Linked DNA regions of Homo sapiens: regions 2, 3 and 4 are each linked to region 1. The links are contacts of gene promoters, found by promoter capture Hi-C in blood cells and fetal thymus (Javierre and others, 2016). All regions are on one chromosome and are shown on one strand. Each heading gives the region's core, a stretch centred on a gene start or on the middle of the fragment in contact. The rest is flanking DNA. Distances are from core to core; before and after follow the strand shown.

Evidence for each region. Contacts are between HindIII fragments. The CHiCAGO score rates a contact against its expected background, and 5 or more counts as called.
Region 2: the fragment with the promoter of KAT6A here is called in contact with the fragment with the promoter of VDAC3 in region 1 in 9 of 17 cell types (activated CD4 T cells, total CD8 T cells, naive B cells and 6 more); the score reaches 7.4 in activated CD4 T cells.
Region 3: a fragment that was not itself captured here is called in contact with the fragment with the promoter of VDAC3 in region 1 in 10 of 17 cell types (megakaryocytes, endothelial precursors, M2 macrophages and 7 more); the score reaches 7.5 in megakaryocytes.
Region 4: a contact is called between a fragment that was not itself captured here and the fragment with the promoter of VDAC3 in region 1, in 1 of 17 cell types (naive CD8 T cells). The highest score is 5.9, in naive CD8 T cells.

The regions. Positions count from the first base shown.
Region 1 is chr8:42,390,553-42,396,034 of GRCh38, reverse strand. VDAC3 (voltage dependent anion channel 3) reads right to left here and starts at 4,155. Exons shown (of 10, transcript NM_005662.7): 1 at 4,107-4,155; 2 at 2,151-2,190; 3 at 1,757-1,825; 4 at 902-951. The coding sequence starts at 1,823. It also overlaps a transcript of DKK4 not described here. RefSeq lists enhancers at 3,650-4,150, 4,151-4,651 and a silencer at 3,879-4,408. The HindIII fragment of the contact is 9,991 bases long and covers 3,254-5,482 here.
Region 2 is chr8:42,049,586-42,055,067 of GRCh38, reverse strand. KAT6A (lysine acetyltransferase 6A) reads left to right here and starts at 3,081. Exons shown (of 17, transcript NM_006766.5): 1 at 3,081-3,167. It overlaps KAT6A-AS1 (KAT6A antisense RNA 1), which reads right to left and starts at 3,318. Exons shown (of 2, transcript NR_136589.1): 1 at 3,083-3,318. RefSeq lists silencers at 183-477, 2,438-2,597, 2,788-3,417, 3,518-3,987 and enhancers at 1,947-2,467, 2,468-2,989. The HindIII fragment of the contact is 5,822 bases long and covers 1-4,288 here.
Region 3 is chr8:42,675,573-42,681,054 of GRCh38, reverse strand. No RefSeq gene overlaps it. Among named protein-coding and RNA genes, the nearest start is that of CHRNB3, 19 kb to the left of the region's middle. The HindIII fragment of the contact is 1,054 bases long and covers 1,721-2,774 here.
Region 4 is chr8:42,124,564-42,130,045 of GRCh38, reverse strand. It overlaps the pseudogene LOC101059972. Among named protein-coding and RNA genes, the nearest start is that of AP3M2, 26 kb to the left of the region's middle. The HindIII fragment of the contact is 9,989 bases long and covers 1-5,482 here.

The DNA.
Region 1 (5,482 bases), core at 2,906-5,405:
CCGCCCGCCTTGGCCTCCCAAAGTGCTGGGATCACAGGCGTGAGCCACCGCACCTGGCCTTTTTTTTTTTTTTTTTAAGACAAAGTCTCACTCTGTCACCCAGGCTGGAGTGCAATGGCTTGGTCTCGGCTCACTGAAACCTCCACCTCCCAGGTTCAAGAGATTCTCCCGCCTCAGCCTCCCGAGTAGCTGGGACTATGTGCGTGCCACCACACCCAGCTAATTTTTGGTATATTTTTAGTAGAGACGGGGTTTCAGAATGTTGACCAGGCTGGTCTCGAACTCCTGACCTCATGACCCGCCCACCTCGGCCTCCCAAAGTGCTGGGATTACAGGTGTGAGCCGCTGCACCCAGCCAAAAGCTATTGTTAATGATACTTTGAAAATATGCCAACATAGCCTTTACTGTAGTCTTTACTTCCAATAAAAAAAACTTTATAAACATCAGTTAAAAACTGTAGAATAATGTACATGCATACGTGCAGAAATACATTTTATTTACATATTTTGTTTCGACTAATCATGAAGGGGCAGAGTAAAGTTAATTTGTTTTTGTAAAAGGGTAATAAAATTTCCATGAACCCATTATCATGGAAGTGAGGTTTTTGGTGCCCATATACATATTCATGAAAGTATAAACATATGACATGGGTCAAAAAATATATATTCTACATCTTCTGAGTGAAAGCTGTAGTATACTCTGAGAAACACAAAAGGTCTCTTCAAAAATTCAACTTGGTTGTTTATTTTAATTGGCTAAGAATGCTGTTTAAAATCTGAGAGGACAAAGCTGTGGGGAAGACAGCATGGTGCTGGTTCAAGTAACTAGACTGTCATGATTTTAAACAGATTCCTTTAAGTTAATTATGTTACATTCATTAAAAATATATTAGATACTCACCACTCCACTACAAGACTTGGTTTTCAGGTCTATCTTGACCATGCCAAAGCCTATACACACACACACACAAAAACACAGTAATGTACAAAATGTGACATTCACTAGTTTTTGCAACTCAGAAATTATGAAATAGCCTATAGTACCTTCCATATGAAAAATGCATAGTATTTTCATTGGGTGAGAGTTCCTCAAGAAACTGAATTATAACCAAATAAATGCAGTATAATTTTCAAGCACTCAAAATGAATAAAGATATACTTTTAAAATGTAAGTTAAAGAAAAAAATAAATGAAAGGAATATGCACTATTCCAAGAATCAAAATTGCTGAAAATAGTGTGCTGCTATATATATCGTTTAAAATATAGTTAACATTACTAGTTAATAAGAAAAAATCAAATATGTACAGCACATAAATTTAAGTTAAATTTTAAAACCTAAAAAATATTTATTTAGGATCAGAATATACATTACTCCAAAGAAGTCAAAAGTTATGTTGTCACTTTCATAAAAACAATGCCACTGTTTGGAGGGAGGAAAAGTTCTACCCCCTAATTTAATTGTCCTCAGGGCCAGACAAAGAGACATAAATGTTATATATATTATTCTACATTCCAGATAACATTAAATATGGACATGTATATGCATCTGTATATGTATATAATTGCTTTTAATGCTTGTAAGGGGTTCTGCCTCTAAAGAATGAGGTCTAATAGCCTGTTAATAGTTATCCCCTTAAATCTTGTGAAGTGGAATAATGCTGACTTACCCTTATTTTACTAACACAGTATTTACACACAGTAGGCATTCAACACTAACCTTTACCCCAAACTGGAAAGTTACAATAGCATACTTACCATATCCTTTGTTGAAGACATCCTTAGCAGCCTTTCCTAGGTCACAGTACGTTGGTGTGTTACACATATCTTATAAAGAAAAACAGGGCAAAGGAATAAAAATAACCATTTAGTATTTATTCACCCACAGTTCTTCTGCTGTTTAATCCTGTGAGAAGGGGTATACAGTTTTCTCTTCCTGTGTATCATTAATGCTTTAATGCAATCAAAGGTATGAGACAGCAGTCTGCTCCTTAAAAAACAGACCTTTCCAGAATACTGAGAATAAAACAGTTTTCCCGTGAGATTCAGAGGTCATCTTTCTGATTGCATTTCAAAGAAAAGTAAGTTCTTACAGGATGAAAAAGATGCTATGTTAAACTGGACTTCTTTTAAAAATATATGCAAAATTTACCTTAGAAAAATCTCTCTCAGGCTCTTATGAAACCAAAGACCTGTATAAGACAACAATGGAAATTTTTAAAGAAACTGTTAAAAGATGCAATCAAAATCCTCAGGGTTAACATTTTTCTCCTCTGAAATTCAGTTCTTAAAATAAGAATTTACCATACGAATTGAAGTGTATTCATCTAGAATATATCTTCTCTCAAAGCTCTTCTTAAAGTGCTATAATTTTACCCATTAACCAGAAATATGACAGATTCTACCTGCAGCAACCTGCTTACCAAAAGTTAGTGTAAACTCTGAAGTTAAAGCCTTCAAAAACCTCAGGTGCCTTGATTTTTCATCTTGCCTACTAAAAATCTGCCCAGCTTTGCTACTGGTAATATGACCCTCATATCAAATTCTCAGAGCTATCAACACTGCTGATTATCTCATTCCTTTGCCCTCTTTGTATCATGGGAAATCTTTCTGCAGCAGGTTCTTCTGTATTCCTCTCGCAGACTCAAAAGCTATGTCTAACCAATTACAGAGCCACCTCTAGCAGTGCCATTAGCCCATATGTCAGAAAAATCCAGAGTACCAGCTAGCCCTTGCAATTGCTACGCCTGAATGATCTACACATTTAAGCTCATATTTATTTATATATAGCCCAGCTCTTAATCCAGACTTCTGCTAAGCTTCTGCCTACCCCATCATACCAAACATATACATATGATGCACTTAAATGGGAATGCATTTAAGTTTTGTTCCTTAACATAAACCTGTCAAATATGACAGACACTATGATATAAAGAGACTAGTATAAAAAACTAAAAAGAAAAAAAAATTAAAGAGGAAACGGTAGTATAAATGTACTGACTCATTCCATAGTAAAACTTTGCTCTAAGCTACCAGGTTTCATAATTCACTTACAGAACGATTATTTTACAATTCAATCCCTTGTACTAAAGTGATCAATTCTAGGCTTTTTATATTATCCCAATTGCAATTTGATATTACTCTTTATGATTACAACTGATGTTGATATTTGTTGAAATTTTGCCAGAAGTCTGTAATTTGGGAAGTAAGTATAGAAATGCAGGCAGTATATATTGAAATAGAAATGTTAAAGCTTTACAGTCTGGTTTTTCATACTGCCGAGAAAAGATACACTTAAATGTTTAGAAGCACTATATATACGTCTAGGGACTATTTACAATATTTCAGCATTTTGTTTTGTTATTTTTCAAAACCAGTACGAGATACTATGCAAAAGTCACGTAGCTGGTTTAGTATACTAACTGACCTCAATTCTGCCTAGTTCAAGCTGACTTTTTCAGGCCTATGACTCTGATGGGAAATGCACTGCTAGTATGATCAAGCAAAAATCGAGAACAACAGAAACTTCATGTTCCTCGAGAGTAAAGCTACAACCACACGTCTCCACCAGCTCTACAGAATGCACCTGCCCATAGATGTGCACACTGCACAGAGGCTGCAGGAGACGCAGACGGGGAAAGGCGTTAAGCCGGTTGCTACTGCTTTACAAAGCCACTAACTTGACAGCCAGTACAGAGCCCTTTTCGTTCCTCGCTTCTCCGTTTTGAATTGCACGCAGGGCACCCTCCCTCGGCCGTAAGGAGGGGGCAGGGGCGGGCGGGAGATGGGTGTGGGGTTCGAGGATCCAACTTCCCTAGAACCGATCTCCTTTCTAGCTGACCCCTGGGAGGAAAGTGCGGTCCACACGCCGGCGGGATAGGTCGCTGCCCGCGCCCGGAGGCCACTTGCCCCGCCGTGCTGCGGCTCCATCGCCTGAGGTGGCCCGGGCGGGTCCCGGCGGGAGCGAGCGGCCCCGGCCCCCCGCGCCCCGGTAGCCTGCTCCCTGCCCACAGAGCCTCCGTTAGGCCCGCCTCCCGCCTGGCGCTCTGCTCGGCCGCGGCCCACCGCTCTCCGGGACTGGAGCCCGCGCGGCCTCAGCTCTCCTCACCTCCACCCCGAGGGCCTGTCTCTGCTCCGCCAGGGCAACGCTGAAGGTCTTCAAACCAACGCCGTCCGCGCCTGCGCAGCCTCGCACCCCCAGCCGCGCCTGCGCGCCGCCCCTCCCCGAGAGCGCCTGTGCGCCGGCGTGTCGCGCCACGGTCGCGCGCTTCGGAGCAAGGCGCGGAGACGAACAGCCGGGCCAAGCCAGCACCACCAACTGTCCGGCTCCGCAGCGCGCGTGCGCAGGAGGGCTCGGTGTGGACAGTGAGGTTGACTGGGGGCCCAAGAGGCTGGGGACCGCACCTGTGCCCTTGAGGGGACTCATTCTCGCGAGAATGCGCGAGGTTGCTAGTTAACTGTTGCCATGGGTGCGGCCGCGAAAAGGCCGCAGGGTGCCGGACCCCAGGTTTGAGGCATGCCGCAGGCCGGAGTGTAGTGGCGCGATCTTGGCTCACTGGAGCCTCGACCTCCTGGGCTCAAGCCGTCCTCCTGCCTAAGCCTCCTGAGTAGGAGGGTCCACAGAAGCGCGCCACCACGCCCGGCTAATTTAATTTTTTTTTTTTTTTTTTTTTGGTAAAGACGGGAATCTCCCTATGTTTCCAGGCTGGTCTCGAACTCCACGGCATAAGTGATCCGCCCGCCTGCGCCTACCAGAGTGCTGGGATCACAGGCCTGAGCCCACGCCCAGCCTCTTATGGGAATTTCATTTCAGACTGACCAGACTTCAAGAGTGTCACTCTTAGGTCATCTCGTCTTAAGGATGAGAATACACAGGTCCCCAGGGAGTAAGTGATTGATTCAAGATCCCACAAGTAGTGAGAGATGATAATTCAAAGGGGCAGAGGATGTGGAGGAGAAAAAGCTCTTCTGTAGAGGAGAAGACCAACTAATAAAGGTAGAATAGATGACAGAAATAGAAAATCATCGTCTTGGAACCACCATGATAATAATTGATTCAGGCTGAAATGATCAGTGGACCGTTGAGGATGTTCATATGGTTTCAAAGTATCACCCCCATAGATTACTCACTAAAGAGAAAAGGGTACCTTCACATCAAAGAGACTGATCAAACGGGGGATGGTAGGGACTGACATATGCCCCTGGTGTGAGGCACAGAGAGGGACACAGAGATAATATTCTTGTAAAAGTGTGTAATTTGCCTCTCTTCAGGACGAAACAATCAGGCAAATCCAAACTGAGAGACCTGCAAGACAACTGCCCAGTCTTCAAAAATGTCAGTTTCATGAAAGATTAGGAAAAAGGCTAGTGAACTGCTCTAGGTTAAAGGAAGCAGCCTGTAATCCCAGCACTTTGGGAGGCAGAGGCGGGCGGATCATGAGGTCAGGAGATCGAGACCATCCTGGCTAACACAGTGAAACCCCG
Region 2 (5,482 bases), core at 1,832-4,331, 340 kb after region 1:
TATAATTTAAAAATTAATAGAGGGGGTTAATGATATAGTTAAAATATTTTAATTAATTCAAAAGAAGGCAAAAAGCAGAGAACAAGGAATGTGAAATAGGTGATCCAAAATAAATGGTAAGATGGTAGGCATACATCCACATATACCAGTAATTATATTAAATGTAAATGGACTAAAAATGTTTCCTGTTGAAACCAGGACAGAGCAAACTTCCAATTTCAGGCTGGCATGGACTCTGTATAAGACACAAGTACCAAGTACAAGTGAAAAGGCAGGGATTCCTAGAGCAAAATATGCAAGGGGGAAATAACCTTTAGTTGCCAGCTCCACAGGGCTGAATCGTGAGTAAAGTTTGAGCTAAGAAAAACTATCCTTTCAGAGTGCAGATTGCTTTTTAACTTGCAAATGATGAGGACTTTAATCCGTCTTTGTTGCAAGATTTTTATTTTGAGAAGACCTCCTGAATGTGCCATTTAGTTATGCAAATGTAAAGCAGAGACTCTTTATGGAAGCTGTGTGAAAAGCTCAACTGTGCTTTGTTGTTATAAATTGTTTTAAATTCTTGCTACTGTTTAATCCCCAGTTTGGTCTTTTCACAGGATGGCTGTGGCTAGTTTTCTTCCAAATTATCCAAAAGTAAACACAACTCATCTCTGTATTATTTTTCTTCTGAAGGCCACACACTCTAGTCTCACATGAAGAACTCATTGTCTTTGCATTAATATGACTTTATCTGCCCTCTTTGGGAAATAAAAATCTGCCTATTCTACTAAAAGAAAATACATATATATATATATATATATATTTTTTTTTTTTTTTTTTTTTTTTTTTTTCCTGGAGGTGATTTCATTACAAACAGGGACCATTTTACCTGAGAATGTGTCTATCTGATTCATCTAGGATGAAAGAGATCCTTTCTATTGGATTATCATGTATTCCAAATTTCTCTACTGCTTTGGAGATGGGGCTTGGAAGTAGGCGATGAATGGCAACTCAGTCAACCTCACTACATTACACTTCTGTTTCTGTCAGTGTCAGGATATTGATTAGGCTGGACCATGATCTGAAAAGTTACGTTATTCTTACTGAATGGTCCAGAGTCTACCGTATGGAGGGTAGGGCTATGGATTAGAGTGGAGACGGGATAGATAGAAAAGTTTGGGTTCCCTCTTGCTGTGTCTCTCAGGCTGGAGTGTAGTGGCGATCATAGTTCACTGCAGCCTGGAACTCCCGGGCTCAAGCAGGCCTCCCGAGTAGCTGGGCTACAGCAGCGCCCCGCCACAAACGGCTTTCTTAACGGCTTAAAAAATTGTTCATTCACGAGCAACATTTTTTTATTTTAAACCGCCTACTACAGTACTTGTACAACATTATTCTAGGTGCTGGAGATGCAGAGTCATTATAGGAGAGCATTTACCAGTGAATGTATTCGGAATATATATATATATATATATATATCACATGTAAGTGCAAAATGACTAGAGCAAATGATACTACTACAGAAGTTCAGAAAAGGAAGTCAGCATGGAAGTTAAGGCAGTGGGTGAGAGGGAGGCCCTTAAAAGCTAAAGCTGAGATAAAATGAGGTATTGCGGGCGACAGTCTAGGCGGGGTGTGTCGTATGGGGTTGGGGACAGGGCAGATAAAGGTCAGGCAGCAGGATACACGTCCATGTCAACGATTAAACATTTAGTGTCTTTTTCATGTCTACTGTCTTTCTAGTGAATGCAGAAAAAAAAAAAATGCATGACTTGGCCAGGTGCAGTGTCTCAGGCCTGTAATCCCAGCACTTTGGGAGGCCGAAGAGGGCGGATCACTTGAAGTCAGGAGTTCGAGACCAGCGGCCTGGCCAACATAGTGACACCCCGTCTCTACTAAAAATACAAAAATAAGCCAGGCGTGGTGGCGGGCGCCTGCAGTCCCAGCTACTCAGGAGGATGAGGTAGGAGAATCGCTTGAACCCAGGAGACGGAGGTTGCAGTGAGCCAAGATCGCACCACTTGCACTCCAGCCTGGGCAACAGAGCGACACTGTCTCAAAAAAAAAAAAAAAAGTATGACTCAGTCTCTGCATCAAAGAGTTTAAAGTAGATGAAAGGCAAGACAAAGAAACGTCCATACAGCCAGTAGTGGACAGGCAGGCCATGAAGAACCGCCTGCTCGTGGTTCCAACGCCCTAAGTATGGACAAGAGTTCCGCACAGGGCAAGAAGGGAAGACCGGCTTTGGAATAAGACAAATCTCAGTCCCAGGCTCAGGTGCGCGCCACATACTAGCTGTGTGACCTTGTCCAAGTCACACGACCCAGGTCTGTGGAGTCTCCCATAAAATGGCTCTAGTGAGCTCCAAGAACCCTCTCAGCTGCTGGGGGAGGGAAGAAATGAAGTCACTGCTGAAAGGGGTTAAGACGGGTGCTTCTGGTTCCACCCTCTCCCCAACTCTTCCCACCGACACAGGAGAGCCGTCGGGGGCTGAGGCGAGCTGCCAGGGGTGAGGACGGGAAGCCGCCTCCTCTCCGCCCCCCAGGCCCCGCCCTCGGGCTCCGGAAAGTCGCTGTGCAGGCAAATGAGTGGGGAGGGAGGGCTCACTAACTGTAAACAGACGCCGCCGAGAGTTCCCATCCTGCGTGGCTGCCGGATTTCCGTGCCACACTGAAGCCACCCCACCCAGACTCCTGCCCTCAGTTTCCCCAGCGGTGGCATGGGGTGCACCAGCTCCTCCTCTCCCGGGTCGCCGTCTGACTTAAACGCGTGAGACGGGAGAGGAGGAACCCCCGCTCCCCAGCCTCCAGCCCCACCAAGTCCTCCTCCTCCCCTGGCTTTGGCCTTTTGTACCGGCCCCACGTGACCCCGCCGGCCGGCTCTTCCCTGCTGCCCCGCCCCGCCCTCCGGCCTTTCCCGGCTCTCGGCCCAGCTCTTCCCGCTCTCGGCCGCCCCCCACCCGCGCTGCCGGGCCTCCGCCTCCCCTCGCCGCCCGCCCAGGCTCTTCCAGCTCCCTCCCCCAGGCCGCCGTTCCCTCGCGACGCTCCCCTCCCCCCGCGGCTGTTCCGCCGCCTTGCCTCCCCTCCCCCCGGCTGGAGCTCACTGTCTCCAAGATGGCGGCCGTGTCAGTTTGGGGCATCTCCGCGGTCCGGCCCGGGGCCCCGGGATCTCGGCTGTCCTTCCTCCCGGTAAGTAGCCGAGGGGCCGTTCCCGGCCGCCCCCGGCCGCCCAGCCCGAGGCCGAGCCGCTCCAGGGCCCACTCCGCTGCCTCGCGGGGTCGGCGGGCCGCTGCAGGCCCCGCCGCGGCCTGCGCCGCCTCCCGCTGCTCTGCGCCAGGCCTCGGGCTGGGGCGCCGTGGCCGCCCCCTCGCGCCCGCCCGCTCGCTCGCTCGCTTGCTCGCTTGTTCGGCGCCCGGCTGCCCCGGCCCGCGGCCCGCGCGCCGCCGCCCGGCCCCGCGCTCGCGGGCCCCGCGCCCCCGATCCCGCCGGCCGGGCCCGCCCTGGGGGAGCCGGCGGGTGGGCGGGCGGCGAGCGGCCCAGGCCGCGGAGCCTCGGGCTGGCGGAGCCGGCGAGCCCGCTCTCCCTCGGGGCGCGCCCACCCGCCCGCCGCGCGCGTGCCGGCTGTGCCGGGCCGGGCCGCTTCTCCCCGCGCTCGCGGGCGCTCGGGTTCGGGCTCGGGCTCGGGTTCCGGCTCCGGCTTTGGCTCCGGCCGGGGGCGCGGGGATCCGAGCGGGGCTGAGGCGGCGAGCGGGGCTGACAGGCCGGCGGGTGTTGTGGTGCGAGGCGCAGCACGTGTGGTGTTGTGTCTGCCGGGCTGTCAGCCCAGCCGCCGAGGGGAGGCCGGGCGCCTGTCAACCTCGCGGCTTGGCCCGGTGCGCGACTGTCAGGCTCCCAGCAACCCGCGCCGCCCTCGAGCCGGCCCCCAGAGCTTAGGGTGCGGAGCTGGGCCGGGGCTATGCACCGCTCTGAACTCCTTCACGTGATTTCATTGTTAACTTGTGCTCGGGGTCTGTTTCCATCGCGTGGAAACGGTGCAGCGCCCCGTCGGCGAGCTGCCGGGCTGTGCAGATCCAAGTTTTTAAAGTTTCTCGCTCTTTGAAAAGAGAGCGCGAAGACGTGTTTAGGGGTGGGGAATGGGGACGGGAAGGACTGTCGGAAGCGAGTTGCGCTCGCTCTAGCCGCTCGTGTACTTTCCGGGAGTTAAGATCCGAGGCTGCAGGCGCTTGACTTTCCGAAGACCTGGAGACTGATGACAATCCCGACTGGAAAGACAATGAGTGACTGTCACTCATTCTTTTACCTGCGAAGCTTAGTCAATTAGGACGTTCGTTCCCAGCTTGTTAAACTCAGGATGTAGCTTCTCATTTAGTTTAGACTTAATATCTGTATAATGAGCTTACTTGGAGTAATGATACTCTGATTTCTATCCTCTTGAGACCCTCACCAAATTGAAGCATGATTCTCCCAGGGGGCTTCTTTTTAGGCAGCTGATTTAAAAACAAATCTTGGCTCAGGTTTGAATGTTTGCTTCACTCTTTTCTTTCCTATCAGAGTTAATAGTAATATCTCTTTCCTAGTGTGTATTAGTTTTCCGTTTGATTTTAATGTCACTACCAAGAATAGTTGCTGTGGGAGCCATTTGTCTAGCATTGTTTATATTGTAATGCAAATGATCTCCAGAATGAGAGCAGAAGTTCTAAAAAACACTTCAGTTAAACTTATTTTTGGAGGCAAAAGAGTTAGATTCAGAATTCAGTACTTTAGTGATTAAACAAGATTGCATCTACCAGATTCTTTTATAGGGATACTGACTTTGATTCAGAGAGACAGTACATTTCTGTTTATGTTTTATTAATGTTCGTTTCAGGACAGCAATCTTGAATTTATATCTTTATTATTTGGGCTTCTCTTTAGTCCTACAAGTAGCCAGTGTATTTCTTTTTCTGTACCGTCCGTTTGATATGTAGTATGTGCGTTGACCCCAGTGATTCTGGGCCTTCCTCATTTCTAGTTTTCCTGTCTGAATTACTTACACGCAGTTTGACAGTTGTGACTCTCTTCAGCATATGAATAGAAACATCTTAGTTTGGGTTAGGAGAAGCTATCAGCATGTAATTCTTAAAATTTGAATGAAAGTGGATTATTGTTAAATTCAGTAAGCACTTTTACTCTAGGCTATTTTCAATAGTATTTTTGTTTCCATTAGGAGAGATTAAGGTAATACTGTACTTAAATTATAAACTGGGTGTGCATATTGTATTCATTCTTTTCATGTAAGAACTAAAATTTTCTCAGTCGTTTTCTGCCTTATTGACTGTTTTTGTCTACTCTGAATGTCTAGAATTTTGAAAGATGAAAGATTCACTTTTACTTTCATTGCAGGATTCTTTCTACTAATCCAGATACTTGTTGAAGTGCTGACTAGTTTCTTGGGGAAAGATGTCAAGGAAGAGTTGAAATTCCTAGACTGGTGAGCAGAGATTGCGGAGTACAGAATAGCCATC
Region 3 (5,482 bases), core at 998-3,497, 290 kb before region 1:
ATAAATAAATAAAACTCTTTTAATGGGAGCTGAGTGGGGGAGAGGAGAAAAATGCACTTGTAAACAGAAACCTGACCTATGCTTTGAGGAGATTTCTTTCACCCTCCAGCTTTTCTGCACTCTCCTTTTTCACTTTTTCTTCTTTTATTCAGCTGACATATCTGTGCCTTCCTCGTTTGCTCTTATCCAATCCTCCATCATATAGAACAATCATCTTACCCATGTGGCAAGCTGTTTCCTTCTTAAAACTACCAGGATCTTTCTTGAGCCAAGAACCAGAATGAACTACATTCTCAATCAGGTTTTAAGGGTAGACCTCTAGGTGAGTTCTTGGGTGCTTCTGAAATCTCACCCATCATTTTCCAAAATGACAGAGTAAATGTACCTTGGTTGAAGGAATGTGTAAAGCCACTGTTGAGATGCTATAAAGAAATACCCGAGACTGGGTGATTTATAGAGAAAAGAGGTTTAATTTGCTCAGGGTTCTGCGGGTTGTACAAGCATGGCTCCAGCATCTGTTCAGCTTCCTATAAGGCCTCAGGGGGCTTTTACTCCAAGAAGGAGGTGAAGCAGGAGCTGGTATCCCACATGGCAGAGGGGGGGCAAGAGAGCGAGTGGGGAGAGGCCACGCACTTTTTATTTTTTTTGAGACGGAGTCTCACTCTGTTGCCCAGGCTGGAGTGCAGCAGCATGATCTCGGCTCACTGCAACCTCTGCCTCTTGGATTCAAGCAGTTGTCTACCTCAGCCTCCTAAGTAACTGGGATTACAGGCTCGCGCCACCATGCCCGGCTAATTTTTGTATTTTTAGTAGAGACAGGGTTTCACAATGTTAGCCAGGCTGGTCTTGAACTCCTGACCTCGTGATCTGCCTGCCTCAGCCTCCCAGAGTGCTGGGATTACAGGCGTGAGCCACCGCGCCCGGCCGGGGCCACACGCTTTTAAACAACCAGATCTCACAGGAACTCACTCACTATTGCAAGGACAGCACCAAGGGGAAGGTGCTAAACCATTCATGAGAAATCCACCCCCATGATCCAATCACCTCCCAGCAGGCCCCACAGCATGAAAACTGGGTGGGGACAAATATCCAAATGATGTCAAGGAGCAATAAGGCATAATAATATGGGAATCCAAAGTGTTGGGTTTTTGTTTTTGTTTTTGCGACTGCTGAGGACTATTGGAATACTTTGTCTTATCCAAATAGCTGTTGTTTGAGGCTGGGCACGGTAGTTCACACCTGTAATCCCAGCACTTTGGGAGGCCGAGGCAGGTGGATCACTTGAGGTCAAGAGTTCAAGACCGGCCTAGTCAACATGGTGAAACCCCATCTCTACTGAAAATACAAAAAATTAGCCTGGCATGGTGTGCATGCCTGTAATCCCAGCTACTCAGGAGGCTGAGGCAGGAAAATCGCTTGAACCCAGGAGGCAGAGTTGGCAGTGAGCCAAGATTGCACCACGGCACTCCAGCCAGAGTGACAGAGGGAGATTCTGTCTCAAAAAACAAAAACAAAGACAAAACCCCACATAGCTGTTGTTTGAGTGCAATTACGTTGTTTGGATGCAATTATGACTTAAAGTTTTTTTCTGACATAAAAGTTTTTTCTTTGTTTTTGTGTTTTAAGTGTTCATTTGCTGCTAGCATAAACTTCAGCCCTCTTTTGTTTGGTCATTACACCCCTAACCTGGCAGGGGCCTATAAGCTGCACAAATTAAGCTTCTAGTTAGTGAGGTGCATGAGCCTCCCCTTAGCACAGTTCTGTAAATCATAGAATTTTATTATTTTATTTCAGACAGGGCTGAGCACGCCACAGCCTTGACATCCCAGGTTCAAGCAGTCCTCCCACCTCAGTCTCCTTAGTAGGTGAGACTACAAGTGTGCACCACAACACCTGCTAATTTTTACATTTTTTTATAGAGATGGGGGTCTCACTCTGTTGGCCAGGCTGGTCTCAAACTCCTGAGCTCAAGTGATCCTCCTGCCTCAGCCTCCCAAAGTGCTGGGATTACCGGCATAAACCACTGCACCTGGATTGAAAATCTCTTAAAACTTTTGTTGAATGAGAATGAGGCAAATCTAAGCCTGCTATACATCTACTTAGGATTTTAGTCACCTTTTTAAGGTGTGTGGGTATCTCTTTATTGCTAAGGGTTACCTAAAAGAAAGTCATTCTGATATTATAACTACTCTGTTCTGAGTCCATTCCAAGAACAATGTGCCCCTTACCCAAGTTTATGGGCTGATAGAGGGAGACAGAAAGATAATTGTGGACTTTTCATTTCCTTTTGCTTCTTTAGTGAGTAGGGAATTACAAAGCAGGCTCCGGTGGCTTCACTTTTCTGCCTGGGGGAACTGGAGTGGAAGTGAGGGTGGGGCTGGGGAAGCAGCCTTTGCTGCCCCTCGGCTCCTTTGTCCCAGCTCATGGGGTCTCCAGCAGCTCACAGACCTTCTGTACCACTGTGAGATAACGCCGGGGGATGGGACTGTAGTCACCTGCATGCTGGATTTGATCCTGGAAGGAAACAGACAAATTCTGAGAGGGTTGCTGATGACCCGGCAGGACTTTTTGCCCTGCTCTTCCCTCTGGCTCTCAGTTAACTCTCTGTATTAAGGAAAGTAGCTTTCAGGTTTTATAAGTGGCAGGGAGGTGTGTTCTTTGAAACAGCTCATCAGACCTATTAGAGATGATTTTCAATTCTCTGGGGAAAGTGTCAAACATCAGAAAGTAAGGAACTCACTTCCTTTCTCTGTTGTTTCAGCTTGTGCTAAGCTTTAGTTTGAGTTCATTTTTGTGAGTTCTTACCTGAAGCAATACTAAGTTGGCAAGTATAAAACTTCACGTGTAGTGGTTGAGTAAAGGGATTTTTCTTAGAAAACATGAAGTAGGAATAACCAAGTATGTTCCCACCTGCTACTTCTCTTTGGCCATGACTAGAACCACAGAAATTTCATTGAAAATCAAGGAAAGAATCTTTCAGCCAATTTGTTACCTTACTCCAGTTTCCGGGGGTGATGGGTCCTGGCCAACAGTTCTGAACTGATTTTTTTTTTTTTTTTTTTTTTTGAGACAGAGTTTTGCCCTTGTTGCCCAGGCTGGAATGCAATGGCACAATCTCGGCTCATTGCAACCTCGGCCTCCCGAGTTCAAGTGATTCTCCTGCCTCAGCCTCCCAAGTGGCTGGGATTAGAGGCGCCTGCCACCATGCCTGGCTAATTTTTGTATTTTTAGTAGAGACAGGGTTTTACTATGTTGGCCAGACTGGTCTCGAACTCCTGACCTCAGGTGATCTGCCCGCCTCAGCCTCCCAAAGTGCTGGGATTACAGGCGTGAACCACAGTGCCTGGCCTGAACTGAAATATTTGAATAAGGAAAGGCAGACACAGTCTAGAAACTAGAGACTTACACATGGATATCAATCCCTAACAAAATCTACACAGTCTTCCTAGACAAATGAAGGTTACCACTGAGATTCAGCATGGATCCATGACAAATAAGTGGTATTGATTAAACACACCATTTCATTGATTGGGATAGTAGGGTAAGTGATCAAGGTATGATAAATGCCTGAACAGCAGACAGCTTTGGAGTTGTGGGTCCTGGCCTCTGTTGCTGGGAGACAGGTTGATAGGTTGATGCAGCAGCACAGGAGATCGCCTGCGGCCAGCAGATACGTGGGATGCAGATACTGAACATGGAGAGGGTGAGTTGTGAACATCACAAAAACAAACGTGGTGGCCCCAAAGAAAGGGGATCCAGGTTGTCCTTTTCCTCACTGGTAAGACAGGGTTTTTCGAGTTATGGATTTTAGTTATTCAGAGGACCCAATCAATGACTGGGAATGTCGAGTTTTCTATCCCTAAAGGGCTAGAGGCAAAGATCTCGACAGTGGAGAGAAGGATCGGCCTAGGGCAGCCACCTCAGGAGCCCTGAGCAGATAAGGAAGCCACCACAGAGACCCCTCTCCACCCCCACACACTTTTTGGTCCTTATGAGTGATGTGAGGAACATTCAAAACCTGGAATTTGAGGAGCATGGAATGAGTTTTCAATTCCACATGCCACCTATTGACACAATTATGTATGTATATATGCATTTATTAGTTGTAAACTAAATACTAACATAGGTGTTAAAAATGATACCAGGCAGGGGTCGGTGGCTCACACCTGTAATCCCAGCACTTTGGGAGGCTGAGGCGGGCAGATCACCTGAGGTCAGGAGTTCGAGACCATCCTAATTAACATGGTGAAACCCCATCTCTATTAAAAATACAAAAATTAGCCAGGCGTGGTGGTGCATGCCTGTAATTCCAGCTACTCAGGAGGCTGAGGCAGGAGAATCGCTTGAACCCGGGATGGGGAGGTTGCAGTGAGCCAGGCTGGTTGCGCCACTGCACTCCAGCATGGGTGACAGAGTGAGACTCCATCTAAAGTAAAAAAAGATACCATTATCCATCTAATATAGGCTCTAACAGGTTACTCCAAACACAGCTACGACAGAACAGTCTTTCCACACATCAAAGATTATCCTCTTAGACTAGACAGCCTCCTATGTGACAGTCAAGCAAGGCGGGAAGACACCATGTCCCAAGGAGATCCTCTACGCCACCCTGGAGAAAAGCAGTTGACCTGTCCCAGATAGGCCGTCCTTTGATGTATCAGCACCATCTCTTGCAGGCAAGACAAAGGCATGGAGGTTTGAGGCAACAACAGGAAGCCACCTAAGAACTGCTGCTCTTTGGATGTCAATATTAAGAACCAATCACTATGAGTTTGAGACCAGCCTGGGCAACATAGCAAGACTGTGTCTCTATAAAAAGTTTAAAATTAGCCAGGTGTGGTGGTAGTTCCAGCTACTCGGGAGGCTGAGGTGGCAGGATCACTTGAGCCCAAGAAGTCACGGCTGCAGTGAGCCATGATTGCACCACTGCACTCCAGTTTGGGTGACAGAGCAAGATCCTGTCTCCCCCACCCCCAATCTCCCACCAAAAAAAGAATTTATATAGATATAGATATAGATATCGATATAGATATAGATAGATATATATCTTTTCTGAGATAGGGTCTTACTCTGTCATCCAGGCTGGAATGGAGTGGGGGCACGATCACAGCTCACTGCGGCCTCAACCTCCCGGGCTCAATCCTCCTACACCAGCCTCCCAAGTAGCTGGGATCACAGGCTCGTGCCACCATGCCAAGCCAATTTTTGTATTTTTTGTAGAGATGGGGTTTTGCCCCCATGTTGCCCAGGCTTGTCTCAAACTCCCAGGCTCAAGCGATCCTCCTGCCTCAGCCTCCCAAAATGCTGGGATTACAGGCATGAGCTACCACCCCTGGCCGACAGGTATCTCTTCAAAAACCAATTTTGAGGCCACCTGTCATAGAAACCATCAGTGATACACAAAAAACGGCAAGACAGAATCCTGGCCTTGTGAAGTCTACAGTTTGTGATAACCAGCACTTTCTTGGTTCCAATGGATAAA
Region 4 (5,482 bases), core at 1,480-3,979, 260 kb after region 1:
TGCAAATCATGTGTCAGGTAAGGGACTAGTACCTAGAATATTTAAAGAACATTTATAATTCAACAGGAAAAAGATAAATAACCAATTTTGAAATGTGCAAAGGATTTATATAGACATTTCTCTGAAGAAAATATTCAAGTGGCCAATAGGTGGAAGAAAAGATGCCCCAAATCATCAGTCAACAGGGAAATGGCAATGAAAACCACAAGGAGATGTCACTTTACACCCACTAAGAAGGTTATAATCAAAAGAAAAGAGAAGAGAAAAGAAGGAAGGAGAAAAAGAAAGAAGAAACTGTTAGTGAGGATGTGAAGAAATTGCAACCCAGTAGCTCACACCTGTAGTCCCAGCACTTTGGGGAGCCCGAGGTAGGAGGTTCACTTGAGGTCAGGAGTTCCAGGCCAGTCGGGGCAACATAGTGAGACCCCCATCTCCACAAAAAATTAAAAATTAAAAAATTAGCTGCGTGTGGTGGCACGTGACTGTAGTCCCAGCTACTCAGGTGGCAGAGGTGGGAGGATCCCTTGAGCCCAGGAAGTGGAGGCTGCAATGAGCCGTGATAGTGCTCCACTGCCTGACAGAGCAAGTTGCCGTCTCTACAAAAATAAATAATGAAATTGGAGCCTTCTGGGAATGTAAAATGGTGCAGTGGCTGTAGAAAACAGTTTGGTGGGTCTTTAATAAGTTACACATAGAATTACCATATGAGAGCCCACACCTGATGGCTGGCCCCGCCCCACTCACCTAGCCCAGCGCCTTCTCTGCACCAGGAAAGCCCCACTCACCTGAAGCCAAGCTGTCCAGCAGGCAGGCCATGGCCAGACCACCGAGAAGCCACAGTGGGCCACATCCAATGTCTTCGTGATGTTTGACCAGCCCCAATCTGGGAGTTTAAGGAGGTCTTCCACGGGTTTGCCCAGAGCTGTGATGGCTTCATTGACAAAGAAGGCCTGGCCTCGCTGGGGAAGAACCCCATGGTGAACAGCCGGAGGGTGAGATGAGTGAGGCCCCGGGGCCCATCAACTTCACCATGCTGCTCACTGTGTTTGGGGAGCAGCTGAACCGCATGGACCCTAAGGATGTGATCTGCAACACTTCGATGAGGAAGCCTCAACTTCAGGTTTTATCCAGGAAGCCCGCCACGGTGACCACCTCACAGACCAGCAAGTGGGCGAGTTGTACCCGGAGGTGCCTGTTGACAAAAAAGGCAACTTCAACTATGTGGAGTTCACCCGCATTCTCAAACACGGCACCAAGGACAGAGACCACTAGGCCATCCCAGTCGTCCTGACGCCCAGGCCCTGTCCCAGTCACCCCTCCCCGCACACACAGTCTGTACCAGCTCCATGCCCACGACCCTGCAAGACCCTCTCAGGGGGTCCCCCCTTTGAGAGGTTAGGATCCCAGCTCCCAGTGGAGGAAACGGGCCAAGAAATGTGAATGCCAGGCAAGGAGCACACTATGGAGCTGAGGCCGGTGTTCCCACCATGACCCCAGGACCAGGGGAGGGAGCCTCAGACCCCTCCAAGGAAAGATCACCTTCTGGGGAGATGGGCCAAGGGCAGGAACTGGAGGCACCAAGGGAAGACTCCTCAAGAGAGCTCAGGCCTTGGCCGAGGCCTGCCCATTCCTGGGCTGCCCCCTAGGAGGAAGGGGCCTTGAGTTGTGGGATCTGACACTACTTCACGTGCATTCTCACATAAACACAAGCTCACCAAGGTCCCCTCTCAAAGGACAGGACGCCAGACCCCTCCCCTACACCCTGTCCGGCACCAGAGCACACCCACACACAGCACACCACCCACTGTGGGAGTGTACTCACGAGGACGCAGAGGGAGGGACATCCGACCCAGGGGAGGCAGAATCTCCAATAGAGGGCTGAGCACTGAAAAGAAAAAGAAAGAAAGAATTACTGTGTAAACCAGCAATTCCACTCTTAGGTATAGGCCCAAGAGAATTGAAAACATACGTTCACACAAAAACTTGTGCACAAATGTTTACAGCAGTGTTATTCACAACAGCACAAAACTGGAGACAACCCAAATGTCCATCAACCAATGAATGGAGAAACAAAATGTGATACATTCATGCAGTGGGCTACTATTCAGTCATAAAAAGGAATGAAATGCTGCTCCATGCTACATCAGGATGAACCTTGAAAACATGATGCTAAGTTGGCTGGGTGTGGTGGCTCACGCCTCTAATCCCAGCACTTTGGGAGGCCGAGGCAGTCAGTTCACCTGAGGTCAGGAGTTCGAGACCAGCCTGGCCAATATGGTGAAACCCCATCTCTACTAAAAATATAAAAATTAGCCGGGCATGGTGGTGGGCTCCTATAATCCCAGATACTCGGGAGGCTGAGACAGGAGAATCGCTTGAATCCAGGAGGCGGAGGTTGCAGTGAGTGGAGATTGTGCCACTGCACTCCAGCCTGGGTGACAGAGTGAGACTCTGTCTCAAAAAACAAACAAACAAAAAAATTACGCTAAGTGAATGGAGACAGGCACCAAAGACCACGTATTATATGATTCCACTTATGTGAAATGTCCAGAATGGGAAATCTACCTTATGGGAAACCAGAAAGTAGATTTATGGTTGCTAGGGGATAGGGAGGGGAGAAAATTGCCGCTAATTACTTATAGGTACAGGGTTTCTTTTGGGGTGGTGAAAATGTTCTAGAGTCGATAGTGGTGATGGTTGCACAGCATGTTCACTATAACTAAAACCACTAAAGTGTATACTTCAAAATGGGTGAATTTTACATCATGTAATTTATATTTGATTTTTTTAAATGAAAAAAATATTATGGGGATGGGTTTAAAATTACAAAAAAGCATCCCAAATAAAATAACAATCATTAATTATACCATTATCTAGTATTAACCCTGTTAAGCATATTCTTTATATGTGTACAAACAATAAGTCTTCATAATAATTTAAATAATGTAGTTTATATAAAGAAGTTTGAAGATGAAAAAAATCACTCCAAATCCCATCAATTACTACCTTTAGGGAAATATTAGTTCTAGATATAGCATACACATGCTGACACACACACACACACCCCTAAAAGAAGAGAAAGATTTTATTAGAATAGCATTAAGTATAGGATGTTCTTTTAAAGTATACAATTTAATTTTATTTGCATTTGATAGAGTAAAAAGAAAGTGAAATACATCTAGAGGAACTGTTGAATTTTCAAGTAAATGCTTCTGCACAATAAAATACATTATTAAAAATCTTCTGGGTTTAAAGAGTTGGAGACAGAGAAGGAGGGAGGGAGAAAGAAGAGAAAAAAACACTAGAGATTATGAAAAATAAAGCTAGTGTCTATTTTTAAAAACTCTATAGTTCCATTTCAGGTAGCGGCCAGTGTTCTCCTGCTTTGGAAGATGAGGGCATAGCTCTTACTCTCTCCCAGCCCCCACATTTTTTTGTTTGTTTGTTTTTTGAGATGGAGTTTCGTTCTTGTCTCCCAGGCTGGAGTCCAATGGCGCAATCTCGGCTCACTGCAACCTCCGCCTCCCAGGTTCAAGTGATTCTCCTGCCTCAGCCTCCTGAGTAGACCATGCTGGCTAATTTTTGTATTTTTAGTAGAGATGGGGTTTTACCATATTGGCCAAGATGGTCTCGAACTCCTGACCTCAGCTGATCCTGGGATTGCAGGAGTGAGCCACCGTGCCCAGTCCAGCCCCCATGTTTTATGCCCTCTGTGGTATCATTAGTTATATTGCTATTCTCATACTGTCCAGGTTTGTATCAGTCACATGCTCCTATGTAACAATAACCCAATAGGTAGTCATTCTTGAGCTGGATTTTATGGAGTTTGTGCTCACAGCCGGTTTTGGTTTGTTTGTTTTTTAACTGTGGCTTCTGCATTTCTGGATCATTTGTGGTGATTCATCTTGAAATCATCTGGATTTCATTGTTAAGCAGTTTGTTTTTTTCCTAAGAAGAACTCACGGTTTTGTATTACCTGAGATTTTTCATGCCTGTGAACGTCTTCTTATTGACTTTGCTCATGAACAACATCTTGCCTGGCTATTAATTCTTGGGTCACAGGTTTTGTTTTTTGGTTAGAATTTTCTAGCTACAGCTCCTATGACCTGGGGTTTTAAGCACTGTTGTGTCCCTCTTTTGGGTAGTTTCATTTTATGTCTAAATGCCTAGAGACTTCTTTCCTTATCCTTTAAATTCACAGAAGATGTCTTGGAGAAGAGAGTTTATCAAGTTCTCCTGGTACGTTATATTATGTTGTATTTTCTATACTCTGTGGATTTAGTTTTTTCTTCAGTTTTAGTTGTGTCATCTTATATGACATAGTTTAACATAACTACTTTCTACTTCTTGGGTTCTTTGTACATATGTTGGATTATTGTTATCTATCTTCCATATGTTTTAGATTGCCCAGTTATTTTACTGTCTTTGTCTTATTCATCTACATTTGCTAGGATTATTTCCAGCCTTTCCCCTTTGTCATTCATTCCTTTATTAATGCTGTTTATTCTGATTGTTGTTCTTTCTTATTTATTCATTTATTTGAGACAGGGTCTCAATCTGTCACCCAGGCTGGAGTGCAGTGGCACAATCACAGCTCATTGCAGCCTCAACCTCCCAAGCTCAGGTGATCCTCCCACCTCAGCCCCCTGAGCAGCTGGGAATACAGTTGTGTGCCACCACAGCTGGCTAATTTTTGTGTTTTTTGTGAAGACAGGGTTTCACCATGTTGCCCAGGCTGGTCTCAAACTCCTGGGCTTAAACGATCCATCTGCCTTGGCTTCCCAAGGTGCTAGGATTACAGGCATTAATCACTGTGCCAGGCCTCTAATTTATTTATTCTATAATAATGTTGACTTGGACCTCAGTTAATTCCTAGTTCTGAATTCCCCCTCTGTCTCATCTTTGAGCTTGTTTTATGGTGTTCATATTCTTTTTTTTTTTTGCGATGGAGTCTCACTCTGTTGACCAGGCTGGAGTGCAGAGGCACGAACTTGGCTCACTGCAACATTTGCCTCCTGGGCTCAAATGATTCTCCTGCCTCAGTCTCCCAAGTAGCTGGGATAACAGGTGTGTGCCACCACGCCCGGCTAATTTTTGTATTTTTAGTAGAGATGGGGTTACCCTATGTTATCCAGGCTGCTCTTTAACTCCTGACCTCAAATGATCCACCTGCCTCAGCCTCCCAAAGTGCCAGAATTACAGACTTGAGCCACCGCACCCGGCCAAAGACCTTTTTTTTCTTTTCCTTGAATTATATATATATTTTCCCAGTTGGACCCTTCTCTGCTTTTTTTTTTTGGCGGCGGGAGGGGCGGGGGGTGGGATGTGGCTGTAAGAACATTTATCTCCTGATATACCATTGTGAAAATGAAAAACGGTGCAGCTGCGCTTCGGAAAATAGTTTGGTCATGCCTCAAAATGCTAAACATAAGAGTTACCAAATCATCCAGTTTAACTCATAGCTATATACCCAAGAGAATTT